Regions from separate parts of the Homo sapiens genome. Here regions 2 and 3 are each linked to region 1. The links are contacts of gene promoters, found by promoter capture Hi-C in human tissues and cell types (Jung and others, 2019). All regions are on one chromosome and are shown on one strand. Each heading gives the region's core, a stretch centred on a gene start or on the middle of the fragment in contact. The rest is flanking DNA. Distances are from core to core; before and after follow the strand shown.

Evidence for each region. The method cuts DNA at HindIII sites, captures the fragments that hold promoters and counts their contacts. A contact is called where the count stands out against the background at its distance.
Region 2: a contact is called between a fragment that was not itself captured here and the fragment with the promoter of SOX2 in region 1, in 1 of the 25 tissues and cell types used here (dorsolateral prefrontal cortex).
Region 3: a contact is called between a fragment that was not itself captured here and the fragment with the promoter of SOX2 in region 1, in 1 of the 25 tissues and cell types used here (lymphoblastoid cells).

What each region holds. Positions count from the first base shown.
Region 1 is chr3:181,710,432-181,713,291 of GRCh38, reverse strand. It overlaps SOX2 (SRY-box transcription factor 2), which reads right to left and starts at 1,367. Exons shown (of 1, transcript NM_003106.4): 1 at 1-1,367. The coding sequence starts at 931. All of the region lies in intron 6 of SOX2-OT (SOX2 overlapping transcript), which reads right to left. RefSeq lists enhancers at 1-377, 378-1,231, 1,232-2,084, 2,085-2,860, a silencer at 1,467-1,526 and a promoter at 1,106-2,139. The HindIII fragment of the contact is 19,833 bases long and covers 1-2,860 here.
Region 2 is chr3:181,192,044-181,195,115 of GRCh38, reverse strand. All of the region lies in intron 3 of SOX2-OT (SOX2 overlapping transcript), which reads right to left. Among named protein-coding and RNA genes, the nearest start is that of SOX2-OT, 140 kb to the right of the region's middle. The HindIII fragment of the contact is 3,772 bases long and covers 1-3,072 here.
Region 3 is chr3:182,272,626-182,275,568 of GRCh38, reverse strand. No RefSeq gene overlaps it. Among named protein-coding and RNA genes, the nearest start is that of LINC01994, 210 kb to the left of the region's middle. The HindIII fragment of the contact is 3,228 bases long and covers 1-2,943 here.

The DNA of each region.
Region 1 (2,860 bases), core at 118-2,617:
TGCCGTTAATGGCCGTGCCGGGCACCGGGCCGCTCTGGTAGTGCTGGGACATGTGAAGTCTGCTGGGGGCGGCGGGTTCCGGCACCTCGGCGCCGGGGAGATACATGCTGATCATGTCCCGGAGGTCCCCGGCCTGGCAGGGCGCCCTGGAGTGGGAGGAAGAGGTAACCACAGGGGGGCTGGAGCTGGCCTCGGACTTGACCACCGAACCCATGGAGCCAAGAGCCATGCCAGGGGTGCCCTGCTGCGAGTAGGACATGCTGTAGGTGGGCGAGCCGTTCATGTAGGTCTGCGAGCTGGTCATGGAGTTGTACTGCAGGGCGCTCACGTCGTAGCGGTGCATGGGCTGCATCTGCGCTGCGCCGTGCGCATTGAGGCCCGGGTGCTGCGGGTAGCCCAGCTGGTCCTGCATCATGCTGTAGCTGCCGTTGCTCCAGCCGTTCATGTGCGCGTAACTGTCCATGCGCTGGTTCACGCCCGCGCCCAGGCCGGCGCCCACCCCGACCCCGCTCGCCATGCTATTGCCGCCGGGGGCCAGCAGCCCGCCGGGCAGCGTGTACTTATCCTTCTTCATGAGCGTCTTGGTTTTCCGCCGGGGCCGGTATTTATAATCCGGGTGCTCCTTCATGTGCAGCGCTCGCAGCCGCTTAGCCTCGTCGATGAACGGCCGCTTCTCCGTCTCCGACAAAAGTTTCCACTCGGCGCCCAGGCGCTTGCTGATCTCCGAGTTGTGCATCTTGGGGTTCTCCTGGGCCATCTTGCGCCGCTGCCCGCGGGACCACACCATGAAGGCATTCATGGGCCGCTTGACGCGGTCCGGGCTGTTTTTCTGGTTGCCGCCGGCCGCCGCCGCGGTGGAGTTGCCGCCGCCGCCCCCCGAAGTTTGCTGCGGGCCCGGCGGCTTCAGCTCCGTCTCCATCATGTTGTACATGCGGGCGCTGTGCGCGGGCCCGGCCCGCCGGCGGCCGCCGACCCTCGGCCCGGCCGGGACTTTGGGGGGCCCGCGGGCGGGGGGAGAGGAGGAGGGGAGGCGGGCGGGGGTGTCGGGAGCGCAGGGCTCCGCGAGGAAAATCAGGCGAAGAATAATTTGGGGGAAAAAAAGAGAGAGGCAAACTGGAATCAGGATCAAAAAAAGCGCTTCCCTCCTCCTCTGGCCGATCCTGCCGCCGCCGATGATTGTTATTATTATTTTTTGGAAAGGCTTAAGCCTGGGGCTCAAACTTCTCTCCCTTTCTTTCTCTCTCCTCTTCTTTCTCTCAGTCCTAGTCTTAAAGAGGCAGCAAACTACTTTCCCCCTTTTGCAAACACTCTCTTCTCTGCCTTGACAACTCCTGATACTTTTTTGAACAAGTTAATAGACAACCATCCATGTGACGGGGGCTGTCAGGGAATAAATGGGTTTCTAGCGACCAATCAGCGCGCGGCGGCTCCTCCACTCGAGCCCAGCCTCGCTGCCGGGTTTTGCATGAAAGGGGGCGGGGCCTCCCGCGCCGCCGGCCGCGCGGGGGAGGCCGGGGGAGGAGGGGGCAGGCGAGGAGGGGGAGGAGGCTCCCAGAGCCAGCCTGCCAGCCACTGAGAAACCTTTGTATCCCCTCTCGCAGCAACAGGTCACACCACACGCCTTTTCGAAGGAAGTGGGTAAACAGCACTAAGACTACGTGGGTTTTTTTTTCTTTAAACTTAATATTGATTTACTTTTTGGTGCAGGGTACTTAAATGAGGATGGGACGCGGGAAGCAGCTAAGGTGCGGGGGTGGGGCAGGGCACAGTGGGTGGCTCAGGGCGGCTGTCCAACTCGTATTTCTGGAAACAGCCAGTGCAGGAGTTGGTGTGTCATTGTTCTCCCGCTCATCCACAGCACTCCCCCCCAACTCCAGCCCCTCTGGTGCCGCTCCCGTACTGCGCTCTTCCGCTCTCCTCTCTTACCTTACAGGTGCCAACACTCTCTCACGCCCTTCTCACAGTCCCGACTAGAAGTTAGGAGACCCAAACCTCTGTCCTCAAAACCTTCCTTGCTTCCACGTAACTTGCTCTGTTCTTAAAAATAAATCCTGCTCGGACCATAAGGCAGACTCTAGAGCTGAGAACCAGCAGGCCTTGGTAAGCTGCCATCTCCCTGTCCAACTCAGCTCTTTGGCCCAGGAAACTGCAGCTCTTCCTCTTAGCCCCAGCCACATCTCCCACTAGACTGTCTTCATTCAACCGTAGCAAAGGGGATGCTTCTACTGTCTGCCCCCACTCCCCATTCCCATCCCATGCCTCCCCGTAAGAAGGGTTTCGGTCGTGCGGCTTTCAAATGGGGGCTGGGGAAAGACACAGACGGAAGGGCGCTCAAAAGTGCAGGCGATGGGGGAGGGTGATTTCAACTTCCTGGCATCCCACGGCACTGTATGGAGGTGGCTTTTGGGCCGCAGTCACAAACTCCCTCCCACGCAGAGTTCCCAGGACTCCAGCAGAACCAGCCCTGGCATTTTCCCCGTAGATTTCCATTGTGGTGGCCGCAAAGCCCAGGCCGCGCAAGGCTGGGGCTGCGCCGCAAAGGGGCTCAAGGCCTGGGAGGCGGGGTCGATGCTCTCCAGGCACAGGTGCAGGCAGCGCACACTGGGAGAAGGCGGCCGGGACTGGGGAAGGGGGAGCCCAGCAAGGCCCGGGTTAGAGGAGGATGAGATGGGGGCGGGGGTAGGGGCTCAGGAATCTTGCCCGCCCAGGACCCAAGAGGGTAATTTTAGCCGCTCTCCCATTGTCCCGACGTAAAGATTTCAATAGGTAGGCGCTCAATGCGGAGGGCAATGGCAGCACGTCCGTTACAAATAGGTAGTTTTGTTTCTCTTGTTGTCGCTACACGGAGTCAAACAAAGCC
Region 2 (3,072 bases), core at 31-2,530, 520 kb after region 1:
GCTGAGGCAGAAGAATCGCTTGAACCCGGGAGGTGGAGGTTGCAGTGAGCCAAGATGGCACCACTGCACTACAGCCTGGGCAACAGAGAAAGGTTCCATCTCAGAAAAATTTTTTTTTAATTAAAAAAATTTTAAAAAGGTCCTCCTTGCCCCCAGATATCACTAACAATATCTATACAATCAATAACATACTGAGATTTACATCGTCTAATACTATTTCTCAAAAGAGTATTTTCAACAATTGTGGTTATTTGGTTACGTGGGTAACTTTCCTCTCCAACTTCCAGTTGGTCAGTCAGTGATATCACATATGCAATTCATACTGCACATTTTGCTTAAGACATTCTGCATCCAAAACATTTTTAGATTGCCAATGATTCAAGATCTTCAGTAATAACTCTATTTTTGAATACAGCACTTCTTTTTTTTTTTTTGAGCTAAATGAGACTTTTTTTATACTTTAAGTTTTAGGGTACATGTGTACAACGTGCATGTTTGTTACATACATATACATGGAAAGTGTGTTTTGTAGAAAACTGGGCCCTTAAATTGCTTCACAAAAAACAGAATTCCATAGTCAAATAAATGAACAAAGGAAAGCTTTGCATTCTAATACCCATCACAGAAGTTCAGTGCTTTTACCCAACCAAGTTTTCTCCAAGAGAAATGCTAATAAAGTCCCCTACTAGGGCCGGCAACCCAAGAGACCACCTTCTTGAAACTTCACAGAGGGCCACATCAAGAAGTTTCTGCTGTCACCGAAGGCCCACACCAAACCTTTACTCTCAACCTCTCACAGAAGGATTCCCACAACCCTGAAGTTTCCTAGAAGGCCCATGCTTAGCTCTTCTTTAGAGTTTGGCCACCAGCTTTGCCTACACATCCGATAGGTCCTCGCTCTACCCATCCTTCCCTATCTCAAAATCCTAAGCAAGTAATTCACCCACAGAAGCGGCAGTCAGACATAACTTTCTAATACTAAAAATACCCCCGAAATTGAAGAGTTTCCAGGCTTAAAGGGGACCTAAGGACTTAAACACAGGTATCTGCCCCATTGCTGACTTCATGACTGCAGCAAGCACCATGCCTCTAAGAATGCCCAAAAGACAGCCTCTAGCATCAGCCTCAATCTCTGAGACAGCCTCAATCTCCTGAGAAAGCAAGGGAAAAGGGCAGCTCTCTTGCTTACAAACCCAACCCATTCCTCTCTGCTTTAGGTCTCTGAATCTGCAAGTCTCTTGCTTGGTAATCCAGCTCATATTACTTGCTTTACTCCTTCCCTTTTGTAACACATTCAGATTCTCCTCTCTAGATTACCTCTCTCTGTCACCACCTCAACACATCCCTTAACTTCAGTTTTTACCTTGATTATATTTCTAATTACTCAGCCTGCCTAGGCACCACAGTACCTAGCCTGTCTGCTCCTTCAAGGAGATGGATCAGATGGCCCACTGGCAATTCATGGCAGTGAAATTCCAATGCCAGCTGAACCTGCTCACCCATGCACCTTTTCATTTCCAACTTGGACAGAACTGAAACAAAGCCCCTGCCCAAGCTTCAACTGTATTTTTATGAGTAGTCAGCTTTTCTTTGGGAAATAGTTCTAAAATATAAAAGTAATGCTGAGGAGATTTCTTGATACTACTTCTATAATTGGCCTATAAGAAACATCCCTTAACAACTACCCAAAACAGGAGTGGAGACCAGGTGCAGTGGGTCACACCTATAATCCCAACACTTTGGGATGCCGAGGCGGGCAGATCACCTGGGGTCAGGAGGTTGAGACCGGCCTGGCCAATATGGTGAAACCCCATCTCTACTAAAAATACAAAAATCAGCTGGGCGTGGTGGCACGTGCCTGTAATCCCAGCTACTTGGGAGGCTGAGGCAGGAGAATCACTTGAACCCAGGAGGCAGAGGTTGCAGTGAGCTGAGATCACACCACTGCACTCCAGCCTGGGCGACAGAGCAAGACTCCCTCTCAAAAACAAAAAACACACAAACAACAACAAAAACAACAACAACAACAACAACAAAACGGAAGTGGGACTGCCCTACCTTCTTTTACATATTCATTTCAAGTCAACACATTCAAAGTTGAACTCAATGATGTACCCACAAACATACCACTCTTCCCTGTCCTCTCTCACTAAATGGTGCCACCTTCTTTCACATGGCCTGGAACAGACCCAAGAGTCCTTCTCTCTCAGTGTTCTCTCAGTGTTCCATCTCTCTCATTCCCAATAGATGATCATCATATTCCATTAATTCCACCCCTTACATCTCCCCCATATCTACCCATTTTCCTCATCTCAAGGCACCATTATGTCTTTACTAGATGACTGTACAAGCCTCCTGACCAAACCCTGCCTTCTATTTCCATCCCTGCTCCCACTTCACTTCGCTGTGATTATATAACTAAGGTGATCTTTCAACCTAATAATAAACACTAATGTCTATGTCACTCCTGTTCATAACACTCCCATTGCTCCCTATGATCCTTAGAATAAATACGACACTCCTCAGCAGGATATACAGACATCATGATCTGGACTTTGCTTTTCTCTCCATCTTCATTTTTCCCCACTCCTCTCCTCTCACTGTACAACATATTCTGAGTGGGTCACTTTCTCACCTTCAGAATTCTGCACATTGTTCTCACTTCCTAGAATATTCTTCCTGCTCTGCCATCTCTTTACCTGGCCAACACTGTTCATTATTCAGAATCTGGTTGAGCACTACTTCTTCCAAGAACCTCTTCTGAACCATCCCCATCCACCTCCAGACCAGGCTGAATGTCTTTCCTGTGTGTTCTTATTGCATCCTCCACTCAAAACTACTGCAACACTACATTGTAATTGTCAATAAAACCAGGAATTACCTATAATCTTAATTACCTCTAGCCTCTAACAGACTAAGGACAATTTCTTGCTCCCTGTTTCGTCCCGGGCACCTGACAGAGTGTCTGCATCCAATAAGTACTCAATAAATACAAGTTAATTGACAAATGGATGTTGACATTTACCTCATAGAGATTACTTGCAATGGTCATCTTAACCTGACCTCTCCTGT
Region 3 (2,943 bases), core at 322-2,821, 560 kb before region 1:
TACTTCTCATGCTGTCTCTCAGGACTTGACTAAGGCCAAAGTTAAATTTAGTAAAAGCAGTTTCACAATTTGGGGACTCCCAGCCCCCAAAACAAAGTGTGGTCTAAGCATGTAGCCTTTGTGATGATGGCTTGATTTAGGGAAATGGATGGGCAGCCCATCCTTGATGCTCTTTTCTTGACCTGTCCTTGAATATTTTCCTTGATTATGTCATACTTGTACATTTGTTCAGAGGTGGAGAGTAGATAGTTTAAGGTTATATTCTCTGGTAAGGAGTGAAATAACAACTTAGCGTTTATTGAGCATGTACTGTGTGCCAGAGATTCTAAGTGCTTAAGGTGTATTATTTCATTTAATCCTCATGACAATCCTATGAGGCTAACATTTTCATTTTTACAGATGAGATAAAGAGGTATGAGAGGTTAAAGGTGGAATAGTTGTTAGGTATTAAGGAATAGAAAGTAGGCAGCCTGACTCCACTGTGTGATATTGACTTCAGGAATTTGTCTGTGGTAGGTCGCTGGGGTAGGTCAGAACCTAGACAGAGAAGGAGAGGTTTGGCTTATGGCTCCCCAAACTTAGAAGCCTGACCAGAGCCAGTGCCTGAATACACTCATCCCACTTCTGCACAAATGTGATTTTGTTAATTTTTTTTTTTTTTTGAGATGGAGTCTCTCTCTGTCGCCCAGGCTGGAGTGCAGTGGTGCAATCTCAGCTCACTGCAACCTCCACCTCCCAGGTTCAAGCAATCCTCCTGCCACAGCCCCCCGAGTAGCTGGGATTACAGGTGTCATGCCACCATGCCCGGCTAATTTTTGCACTTTTTTGTAGTGACAGGGTTTCACCATGTTGGCCCAGCTGATTTTGTTAATTTTTAAACAGTCTCAAAAGTGTCTGGTAGAATAGGTCCAGAAAGATATATCCAAGGCAAACATAGCCACCCATCTTTTAGAGGATACCTTTCTAGAATATAGGAAAATATGTTTCTTCCCGATCAGAGGAGTTTCCCCCAGCTCTGACATCCAGTCTGATATTTTTAGAATATTTTAGGTTAACTTAAAAATGCACTCAGTGGCCAGGCACAGTGGCTCACACCTGTAATCCCAGCACTTTGGGAGGCTGAGGAGGGCGGATCACGAGGTCAGGAGATCGCGACCATCCTGGCTCACACGGTGAAACCCCGTCTCTACTAAAAAAATACAAAAAAATTAGCCGGGTGTGGTGGTGGGCGCCTGTAGTCCCAGCTACTCAGGAGGCTGAGGCAGGAAAATGGCCTGAACCCAGGAGGCGGAGCCTGCGGTGAGCCGAGATCTCGCCACTGCACTCCAGCCTGGGCGACTGAGCGAGACTCTGTCTAAAAAAAAAAAAAAAAAAAAAAGTGCAGTCGGTAGCCTACTAGAATGAATTGACCTTGATAGGTTCTTACATTTATCTTTAATCTACTGAAAAGCCTTCAAGTCCTGAATCAGTGGTTCTCAAAGTGTGGTTCCACCAGTAGCATCGATATCACCTGAGAACTTAGAAATATAAATTCAGAGCCCCCACCCCAGACCTACTGTTTTGGAAACTGCGGGGCAGCAGCCCAGCAATCTGAGTTTCAACATGTCCTCCAGTCGATTCCCTAAAGTTTGAGAACCACTGACCTAAACCACTTTGGCATAAATAGCCGAACCAGGACATAGCTATTAATATTACCTCTCAGGGAGTAATAGTGTGTTGGAATTAAAAAGTAGCATGGCAAGGACAACCTAGGGCTCAATTCCTTTTTTTTTAATAGATGAGAAAACTGAGGCTCAGGGAAGTGGAGAGATTTGCCTGAGGTCACACAGGAAGTTAAAAGAGTCAATGGGCTCGAACCCAGTTTTCCTGACTCCAGGCCAGAGGGTATTTTTTCATTTCTCCTGTGACAGTGACATTTCCTTGAGAGGCGATTTTCCTCTTACTCTTTTCTAGAGTGTCTCCATGGGTGGAAGCTTATACAAGTGGTTTTTACATTTCACTACCCTGAGTCCTTCTACTTATTTTCTCCATCTAAGAACCAAAAAAAAAAAAAAAAAAAAAAAAAAAAAAAAAGGTGAATGAACAAGTTTTATTATGGGTAATTCACTCTTCCATGTTCTATATACATTAAAAATGCATCAAACAAGTGAACACCCTTTAGAATTCCTGACACTCAATTTTTTTGAATGCTTGTAGAATGACTTACATTCTATTCTCTGAAAAAGTATAGGATGAGTTTTCAAATCATTAGTTGTAAGGATCCTCAAGGAATGCAAAACTCTAAATGACGTCCTTTAGGATTTCTAGTTTTCTGAGTTTTCTAAAAAATTTAAACATATGTAAACCTCAGAAGACAAGTTACATAATTTTTCTGTGCCTCAATTTATTTGTCTAGAATAATGCCTCCCTTAAAGAAATGTTAGGCAAATCAAGTAAAATGATACATGTAAAGCCTAATGCCTAACATAAAATAAATGCCTAAAAACTATTAGTTCATTCTTTCTTCCTCTTTCCTGTTCTTACTAGTGTTAATAGTTGATTGGAGGTCCAATGTAATTATTAGTGACTTTTTGAAAACTAACATAGGAGCAGCTCATCTGTTCTATAAGAAGTTGCTAGGTGATATCTCTTCTTTGATTTTTCTTGGTGGTTGTCCTAAGGGATTTGCTCTCTTTTGTGTTGATTGGACTCATGCATCCTAACCTATCTTTCCTCACCTTCCTTCATGGGACAGGGGAGACCAGAGGACAGGCCCTACCAAAGAAGAAGAGCTTATCTGTTTGGCTTCCGCAGAGTAGACATCAAGGGACTAGTTCTATGTTATGTTCTTGGGGTAGGGCAGTAATTTTTAGGCCAGTAATTCAGGAACACACTGAATAAAATAAAACTTTATCACGTGATTTTCTAATGCCATGTTTGGTGTAGGCACTAATTCACTTGTAT